Linked DNA regions of Homo sapiens: region 1 is linked to region 2. Evidence: promoter capture Hi-C in 16 types of primary human blood cells and fetal thymus (Javierre and others, 2016). All regions are on one chromosome and are shown on one strand. The core of a region is centred on a gene start or on the middle of the fragment in contact, and the rest is flanking DNA. Distances in the headings are between cores, read along the strand shown.

Region 1 (4,620 bases), core at 1,271-3,770, 260 kb before region 2:
AGCAGGTTTCCTTCCTTCCCAGAGCCTCCACTGTGAAGTGGGAGGTTTGGACTAGAAGAACAATAAATTCTCTTTTAACAGACCCCAAGCCCTTGCTGCCCCTTGATAGCACCTAAAAGCTATGCAGAAGGGAGGCCTAAATGTCCCTTACACACAGGAGGGAGGTCCATAGGTTCCTTACAACTGGAAAGCTCCATGAAGCAGGCAGCCCTTCCCTGGGGATCAGGGAGGCCTCCACCAGGGCAACCCCTCCCTCATTTGAGACTCTCAGTGATGCATATGAAACTTGGAAATTTCCCTCCTGCTTTTGGGAGTTGGAAGTATCTGAGGAAGTGATGGGGAGAGAGCTCTGTCCTGTGCCCCCGGAGGGAGGACTGGGGAGGATTAAGGACTATTTGCCAAATGTGCTTGGGGATGAAGGAAAGGGTTCCTTGGATCCCCCAACCTATCTGCCTTTGGGTGGAAAGGCCACCCACCTGGAAGGGGCTTCTGAGCTCATGCCTTCCCTGGCAACCCCTGCCTCAAGGTGCAAGGCCCCAGAACCACCTTCCGTGATCCAGAGCCAGGGCTACTCTTTCCTCCCACCCAGAAAGCTTATTTTAGCAACAAAGGGAGCGAGATGAATGGAGAGTTGCAGCTTCTCCACGGGTTGGCTTGGGCCTTCACCAGAAATGAGAGTCTCATTACCCAACCCCAATTCAAAGGATAATTAACAGATGGTATAATTTCCAAGCATTCTCTGCACCACATGGCTATTAGGTGAAGAACAAAATGCCCACGCAGCCCCTAGATCCTTCCAAACTCCAGAGTCTGAGGAAGTCTAGAGAGGCAGAGCCCTGCGGAGGCGTGTAACCCACGCCTCCATCTCCAGAGCTGCCCTTGGCCTTGCTCAGAGGAAGAAAGCTCCTGTTTGGTCAAAGGGGAGGGCATTTCCTTGAGCCATGGGTCCTCCTCCTACTTCTATCCATCCTGCCAGGAGCACAGTCTAACCCTAATCTTTCTTGCTGTACCCAAGGCCCATCTCCTTTCCTGTTTCCCCAGGGGAAAAGAGAAAAGCTGATTTCTCATCCTTGGCCTCACTGTGTGGTCACACAGACACTCCTTGGGCCTGGGGCTGGGGGATCCTCTGCTGTGACCCAGTGAGAGTGGCACCACTGTGACCGGGGGCAGTGGTAGAAGGGAGCACCTGATCCAGTGCTTTTCAGATGGGTTCCTCCAGACCCTCAAGTTGCACAGAGCAGCCCAGGGATTTCTTGGTTGGGGGAGTGGTGGAGAGGGGCAAGGCCCTGACCCCCTCACTTCAACCCAGCAGCACTACTCATCTGTTCTATATTCTGGCCTTCCACTTCAGATTTCTTTTGAAGAAAAGAATTCTACTGCTAAATAAACATTTGAGAACCATTCACCTTATTCAATCCCCTCATTTTACAAAAAGGGACATTGAGGCACAGAATTTGAGCAAGGTCACATAGCTGTGGTGTTGGAGGCTGGGACCCAGGCCCAGGCATCCCCCCAGGCCAGGGCATCCCCCCAGGGACTACCTGACTGGGCCCCTGGCTGCTCCAGGATGTAGGGAAGCCTTTTCTGGGTCGCCTGCACGGCTCCTGCCTGGCTCTCCGTGTGGTCCAGCTTCATGTCTGGTCCTCTTGGAGAACCCCTGGAATCCTGCACACCCTCTCAAATGAAGCTGCCTTGGAGAGGGTCAGGAGCCCGGGTACCAGGTAGGCCTCCTCGCTGGTCACAAAACTGTGGCGGAAGGAGGGGGTAGCCGCAGGACATGGACAGGGAGGCAGGAGGGGATGAGAGGCCGCCTCTCTAGACAGGACCTCAGGGGGCAGTGTAAGCCCCTTGTCTAGAATCCAGGAAGCCTGTGTTAAAGCTAGGCTCCACCGCAGCCGGCCTCCGAATCTGGTGACAGTGTGTTTGCACCACCTGGCTTCCACCCACTCTGACCCTTCTAATTTACTTCCCTGGAAAAGCCCAAGTGGTGTCCAACATGAGGCTGGGGTCATTCTTCCAACAGCCCGACCCCAAGGGGCATGCTGGTCAGACAACAGCCTCGCTGGTGGGGTGGAGGGGACGGTAGGGAGCGAGTGGGCCCGGTGACTCATTGTGGGTGCTTCTCTGGGATTTTGGAGGCTTTGTTGTGTTGCTCAGGGCCCTTTTAACTCTGTCTGACCTATGGGAGGGGACAGCAACGAGGGCTTTTATGACTGGAATGAACTGGAAACTTGGCCTCTGAGAGCCCTTAAAATGTTTTGGAAACCTCTAGGCATACTTAGGGTACTTCCACCATGATTATCATCGGCTGTGTGGCTTCCGATCGCTAATTCGCACCGGGCATCTGGCGAGGCCGGCCTGGGGAAATTGGGATGGAGGGTCCTGCTGGAGGGAATCCTGGCGCTTTGGGCGGAGGAGTGCTCTGGGTGGGGCCCACCTCCTCCAGCGCGGCCGGCGTTGCCGCTTTAAGGCGGCCGCGGCGCGAGCAGGTCTATGGTAATGAGCCGCCGCCGCGACTCTGCAGAGCTCGCCCGCCCGCCGGGGAGGCGAGGGAGCGCGGGGCTGGGCCCGGGGCCGCGGCGACAGGCAGCAGCCGCGGCGGGGACGCGGGGCGCGAGCGGGCGGCGCGGGACCGTCGGGGGCCGCCGGGGCCGGGCCGGGGTCGGGGCGCACGGCTACGCGGGCGCAGGTGGGCGATCCCATAGGGGCGGAGGGGGCACCCCGGCTCCGGAACCCGGGGCCCGGCAAGGCCAGGGGCGCCGCGGGGCCCCCGGGCGCAGGTGGTGAGTGCCCGGAGCGCAGGTGGAGGCGCGGCGGCAGCCCGCGGTGCTCAGGGTGACCCGGGAGCGGGTCTGGCTCAGGGGGCAGTGGGAGCCCGGGCTCGTCGGAGGGTGCAGCGCGGGGTCCCGCCGAGCCATCCAGACGCAGGCCCCGCGGGGCGCACGGGAGGCCCCCGGGGACTGGCGCCCTGGCCCGGGCATGAGGCGCGGCGGGGCCGGCAGGAGCCGGAGGAGGAGCCGCCGCCGCCGTTGACCCGGCCGCCGGCCGGGAGCTGGGAGAGATGCGGAGCCCGGCCACCGGCGTCCCCCTCCCAACGCCGCCGCCGCCGCTGCTGCTGCTGTTGCTGCTGCTGCTGCCGCCGCCACTATTGGGAGACCAAGTGGGGCCCTGTCGTTCCTTGGGGTCCAGGGGACGAGGCTCTTCGGGGGCCTGCGCCCCCATGGGCTGGCTCTGTCCATCCTCAGCGTCGAACCTCTGGCTCTACACCAGCCGCTGCAGGGATGCGGGCACTGAGCTGACTGGCCACCTGGTACCCCACCACGATGGCCTGAGGGTTTGGTGTCCAGAATCCGAGGCCCATATTCCCCTACCACCAGCTCCTGAAGGCTGCCCCTGGAGCTGTCGCCTCCTGGGCATTGGAGGCCACCTTTCCCCACAGGGCAAGCTCACACTGCCCGAGGAGCACCCGTGCTTAAAGGCTCCACGGCTCAGATGCCAGTCCTGCAAGCTGGCACAGGCCCCCGGGCTCAGGGCAGGGGAAAGGTCACCAGAAGAGTCCCTGGGTGGGCGTCGGAAAAGGAATGTAAATACAGCCCCCCAGTTCCAGCCCCCCAGCTACCAGGCCACAGTGCCGGAGAACCAGCCAGCAGGCACCCCTGTTGCATCCCTGAGGGCCATCGACCCGGACGAGGGTGAGGCAGGTCGACTGGAGTACACCATGGATGCCCTCTTTGATAGCCGCTCCAACCAGTTCTTCTCCCTGGACCCAGTCACTGGTGCAGTAACCACAGCCGAGGAGCTGGATCGTGAGACCAAGAGCACCCACGTCTTCAGGGTCACGGCGCAGGACCACGGCATGCCCCGACGAAGTGCCCTGGCTACACTCACCATCTTGGTTACTGACACCAATGACCATGACCCTGTGTTCGAGCAGCAGGAGTACAAGGAGAGCCTCAGGGAGAACCTGGAGGTTGGCTATGAGGTGCTCACTGTCAGGGCCACGGATGGTGATGCCCCTCCCAATGCCAATATTCTGTACCGCCTGCTGGAGGGGTCTGGGGGCAGCCCCTCTGAAGTCTTTGAGATCGACCCTCGCTCTGGGGTGATCCGAACCCGTGGCCCTGTGGATCGGGAAGAGGTGGAATCCTACCAGCTGACGGTAGAGGCAAGTGACCAGGGTCGGGACCCGGGTCCTCGGAGTACCACAGCCGCTGTTTTCCTTTCTGTGGAGGATGACAATGATAATGCCCCCCAGTTTAGTGAGAAGCGCTATGTGGTCCAGGTGAGGGAGGATGTGACTCCAGGGGCCCCAGTACTCCGAGTCACAGCCTCGGATCGAGACAAGGGGAGCAATGCCGTGGTGCACTATAGCATCATGAGTGGCAATGCTCGGGGACAGTTTTATCTGGATGCCCAGACTGGAGCTCTGGATGTGGTGAGCCCTCTTGACTATGAGACGACCAAGGAGTACACCCTACGGGTGCGAGCACAGGATGGTGGCCGTCCCCCACTCTCTAATGTCTCTGGCTTGGTGACAGTACAGGTCCTGGATATCAACGACAATGCCCCCATCTTCGTCAGCACCCCTTTCCAGGCTACTGTCCTGGAGAGTGTCCCCTT
Region 2 (4,645 bases), core at 886-3,385:
CCCGCCGGTCAAAACCATCATCTTTGTCCCCACCAGCCATAGGATCATGGTTGGGTGTGGTACTAAGCATGGAAGAGCTGAGGCTGTCTCCTTGATGGCTGGAAGGCTTCTCTACACCCCGGCACCAGCAGCGGCAAGGGGTGAGGTATAGGTATATGAGGACCAGGACCACACTAAGGATACAGCCCACTAGGGTGGTATAGGCTGTGTTGAGGGTGTCATGGTGTCCGTGCAAGGTGAAATTGTGCACTTTCAATTCCACAGACAGTGTCTCATTGAAAGTCTCTCCCATGGCATAGCAGGTATACACACCACCGTCCTCGACCTGCACCTGCTGGAAAAGAAGACTGCCATCCTTAGACACACTCACTGTGCCATTGGTCACCTCATCTAGCACCCGTTCATTACTTGGTGTCACCCACACCTTGGTCATCCCTTGCTGCTTGGTGTCACACTTGATGATCAAGGTGTCACCCAGGTGGGCCTCCCAGGCACGCTCCTTGTACTCGCCACAGTTGAGGAAACTCAGGTTGAAGACATTGTGCAGCTTCTTGGAGTTCATGCAGTACAGATCCTCTTGAAAGTCCATCACGGAGCTCAGCTGCCGATACTGCCAGTGTGAAAACAGCTGGTAGAGCTCACAGTCGCAGTTCAGGGGGTTGTTATGTAGGTACAGCCCATTCTTGATCCAGGCCGGCAGCTTCTGCAGGTCAGGCAATGGCAAGTTCTTCAGCTTGTTAGAAGAGAGATCCAGGAGCGTTAGTTTGGGTAGCTTGGCTCCTTCCTTGACCAGTTCCAGAGGGAAGCGAGAGATCTGGTTCTGGCTCAAGTAGAGTTTCTGCAGCTGGGCCATGTCATCGAAGGCGCACCGGTCCACCGCCATGATGTGGTTATTGTAGAGCAGCAGCACCTCCAGTACTTGCAGGTCACTGAACAGGAACTCATCCAGTGTACGCAGCTGGTTGGAGGAGAGGTCCAGGTAGCGCAGGTTGGGTACCGGGGAAAAGGCCTCAGAGGAGATGAAGTTCAGGTGGTTGTGGCTCAGCAGCAGGGAGTGCAGTTGGGTCAGGCGCGTGGGGGTCCACTCGGCCCGCAGGCGGCTCAGGTTGTTGTGACTGAGGTCCAGTAGTGCTGTGTAACTGGGCAAGGAATGGGGCACATTGGGCAGCTGCTGCTTGGAGCAGCTGAGGATGTTGCTGGCGCACAAGCAGGCGGCAGGACAGCTAACCACGGCTCGGCCAGCTCTGGCCACCTCAAAAAGCAGCAGGGACAAGGACGGCAGCAGGAGCCAGAGGCCTCTCGGGTCACGGTGGGGGTGCATAGTGTCACTGGAGTGGGCGAGGAAGGCCACAAGGAAGATCTGGGAGGAGGTCACCCGGGCATGTTCTGGTGGGGTACGGAAGGGTCACTTGAGAGAAAGAGGATGGGTTTGTGGTCACCAAGGACTCCAGAGGGAAGGACACCCTCTCCCACTTCCCCTCCCACCCTTACCTCCACCCCCTTTGGGCTAGGAGAGAGAGATGCTGGGTAGTTTCCAGGCACTGTGCAGGCAGTGGGCTGTAAATATCGGCCGAAGAGGAGGTGGCCCGAGGGCCTACTGGGCTGGGGTCACAGGGGTGCAGGCTGCAGGTATGCACAGGATGGCAGGGACTGCTGGGAGTCACAGGGATGGCACGGGCAGGGTTTGGAGGTGGGGTCGGTGTGCCTTTTGGGAGGAGCTGAGGGAAGGTCAACAGGGCACCGGGCTGGGTAGGACGCGTCCGGTCGGGGTTGAGGGTCCCCGGGGCCTGTAGGGGCGGGCTCCCCCCGGGGCCTCCGGTCACTGCACCTGCTCGGCGAGGACGTGTCTCAGCCCATGGCCGGTCTGGGAGCTCCGTCGCGGCCTCTCCCGGCGGCGCCTCACCGGCCGGCCTGTCACTGCGCCCACCTTACGCAGGGGCCCGCGCCCGGCACCGTCGCCTCCCGGGGACTTGCGGGGCCCCGCTCCGCTCACCCTGCCACCGCCTCGACCGCTGAGCCCGCCGGAGCCCACCGACCGCGGTCGCTGCCTCCAGGTCCGCAGGCCTGGCGCGGATCGGTGCGGGGAGCCGGAGGCGCAGCGATCCCAGCGGAGGGAGCGGCGTGGGGGCAGCGAGCACCGCGCGCGCGCCCGTCGCCGCCGCCGGAGCCTCGGGGCGCGTGCGCGCGGCGGGGGCGGGGCGCACGTGCGTGTGTTTGTGTCGGAGCCGGCCGGGCGGACGCGCGCGGGGTCGTTCCCTCAACCAGCGAGCTCCGGACGCTGAGCTAAAGACGAAAATTGGCAGGAAGAGCGGCACTGGCCCCTTAGGCTCCGCTATAACTTCCTCCATCCCCCATTCCCCCATCTCCCAGCACCCTTCTCGCTACACAGACCGGCTCTCAGGAAAAGTCTAACTAAAGTGAATTCGCTGCACCTACTCGGGCAAGAGGCGTCACATGTCTTTTAATTTCGCAAATTGAAGAAATCTGGCTCAGCTCCCGCCTGCCAATGTTGGCGGGAAATTCATTAGTCACATTCTGAGGTTCCCCCTCCCTTCTCTCTGTGGCTGTGGGGTCTCAAAAATTGGGGGAGGGGTTCCCCCCACCCCACCCCCGTCTTGATGCTACTAGTTCATGACCCTTGAGGTACCACTGAAGGGCACAGCTCCTTAGCCTGCAAGCCAGCTGCGCAGGAGTGAGGGGAAAGGGGGTGTTTGGTGAGCCCAGGCCCCAGAACACCCCTTTACAGACACCTCATGCACCTCTCCCCACTCCACCTGCTACACACACACACACACACACACACACACACACACACACACACACGGACTGCATACAAGCCAGGGACAATTTCCATTCCTGGAAACTCCGAAACCCTTCCCAGCCCGGAGGAAGTCATTCAGCCCTTAGGTCTGGCCACTTGCCTTCTTCCTAAACCAGTGCCAGCTCCCCACTCCCCTTATGGAGCAATTGCAACATAGTTTCTCTGTTACCTAATCCTCAAGATGAAGGCCAGTGGTGGAGGTGGAGGGGTTTCTTCTTTAGGGTGGCCCCTGAAACAACAAGAAGCTGTTACTAGTGTATGTTGTTTGGGTTTGGGGGTGAGGAAAGAGAGAGATGCAGGAAGAGCCTAGACCTTATCATTCAAGATGTTAGCTGTTCTTGAGATGGTGGACCATAAGAAATTACCTTTTTATTTGTTCCAGTCTCTTATAACAGCAAGATCAAGACTGAAATTAATGTCTCAGTAGATTAGCTTGCTAAGAGTTTTAAAAAGAATTTATATCTGTCACATGTTTTACCATGAATTTTAGTGAATATATTATCTCTTCAAGGAGTATTAGCGTGTTAATCTTATGCATAGTGTGAAAAGGTCTTTCTGCAAGGTGCAGTGGCTCACACCTGTAATCCCAGCACTTTGGGAGGCTGCGGCAGGAGGATTGCTTGAACCCAGGAGTTCGAGAGCAGCCTGGGCAACATGGTGAGACTCTGTCTCTTAAAAAAAAAAAAGGCATGGTGGCACGCACCTGTGGTGCCCACTACTTGAGAGGCTGAGGTCGGAGGATCACTTGAGCCCTGGAGGTCAAGGCTGCAGTGAGCCATGTTTGTGTCACTGCATTCCAGCCTGGGTGACAGAGCAAGATCCTGTCTCAAAAAAAAAAAAAAAAAAGAAAGAAAGAAAGAAAGAAAGAAAGAAAGAAAGAAAGAAAGAAAGAAAGAAAAAAGAGAAAGATGTTCTGTTCTGTTCATTTCAGGCATCATTGAAAAGATGAGGAGGGTAATCTTTTTGGAGGACAAGGTGTGAAGAATCTTGAAATCACATTGCATCAGTTATCTATTGCTGCATAATCACATTACCCCAAAACTTAGTGACTTCCTACAGCAATATACATTTATTGCCTTTCACAGTGTCTGTTGGTCAGATTCAAGAGCAGTCTGGTGGACAGTTCTGGCTTGGCAGTTTCTCATGCAGTTATGCGTTAGATGGAGCTACAGTCATTAGAAGGCTTCACTGGGGCCATAGAGGCTCACTTAAATTCATGTGGCTGGCTGTTGGCAGGAAACCTCTATTCTTATCCATAAAGGTCTCTCCACAAGACAGCTTGAGTTTCCTCACAACACGGTAGCTGACTTCCCTCAGAGCAAGAGATGCAAGAGACAGCAAGACAGAAGTCACAGTGATCTGGCTCTTTGAAGTGATGGATATCACCTCCACTTTGGTCACATATGCAATTCCTGATTCAATATGGAAGAACTACACAAGGGCACAAATACCAGGAAGAGAGGATCATTGGGACCATCTTGGAGGCTGGCTATCACACACATCATCTCTGAAGTTACATCTATTTTTTAATTTTGAGAATTTTCAAACATACACAAAAGTGAATAGTACAATGAACTCCCATATACCCATCACCCATTTCAATAATTATTAAAGAAATGTCATCATTTTATTTTGTACAAATATTCCTGAGAAACATATGCTCCTCTCACCCCACCCCTCATCTGCATGTTGCATATTTTCTTTTCACCCCAGTGTTGTTCCAGGCTCTCTCCTCTCCCTTTCCTCTTTATTTTTATTTTTTAGACAGAGTTTCGCTGTTGTCACCCAGGCTGCAGTGCCGTGGCATGATCTTGGCTCACTGCA

Evidence for each region. Contacts are between HindIII fragments. The CHiCAGO score rates a contact against its expected background, and 5 or more counts as called.
Region 1: the fragment with the promoter of CELSR2 here is called in contact with the fragment with the promoter of AMIGO1 in region 2 in 1 of 17 cell types (erythroblasts); the score reaches 5.3 in erythroblasts.

Annotation. Positions count from the first base shown.
Region 1 is chr1:109,247,019-109,251,638 of GRCh38, forward strand. It overlaps CELSR2 (cadherin EGF LAG seven-pass G-type receptor 2), which reads left to right and starts at 2,521. Exons shown (of 34, transcript NM_001408.3): 1 at 2,521-4,620. The coding sequence starts at 3,062. RefSeq lists an enhancer at 1,838-2,558 and silencers at 2,560-2,619, 2,780-2,879, 3,978-4,168. The HindIII fragment of the contact is 8,037 bases long and covers 592-4,620 here.
Region 2 is chr1:109,507,592-109,512,236 of GRCh38, forward strand. It overlaps AMIGO1 (adhesion molecule with Ig like domain 1), which reads right to left and starts at 2,136. Exons shown (of 2, transcript NM_020703.4): 1 at 1,829-2,136; 2 at 1-1,408. The coding sequence starts at 1,321. LOC105378893 (a long non-coding RNA gene) reads right to left here. Exons shown (of 3, transcript XR_001738179.2): 3 at 3,011-3,050. RefSeq lists silencers at 1,740-1,799, 1,810-1,959, 2,020-2,139. The HindIII fragment of the contact is 14,739 bases long and covers 1-4,645 here.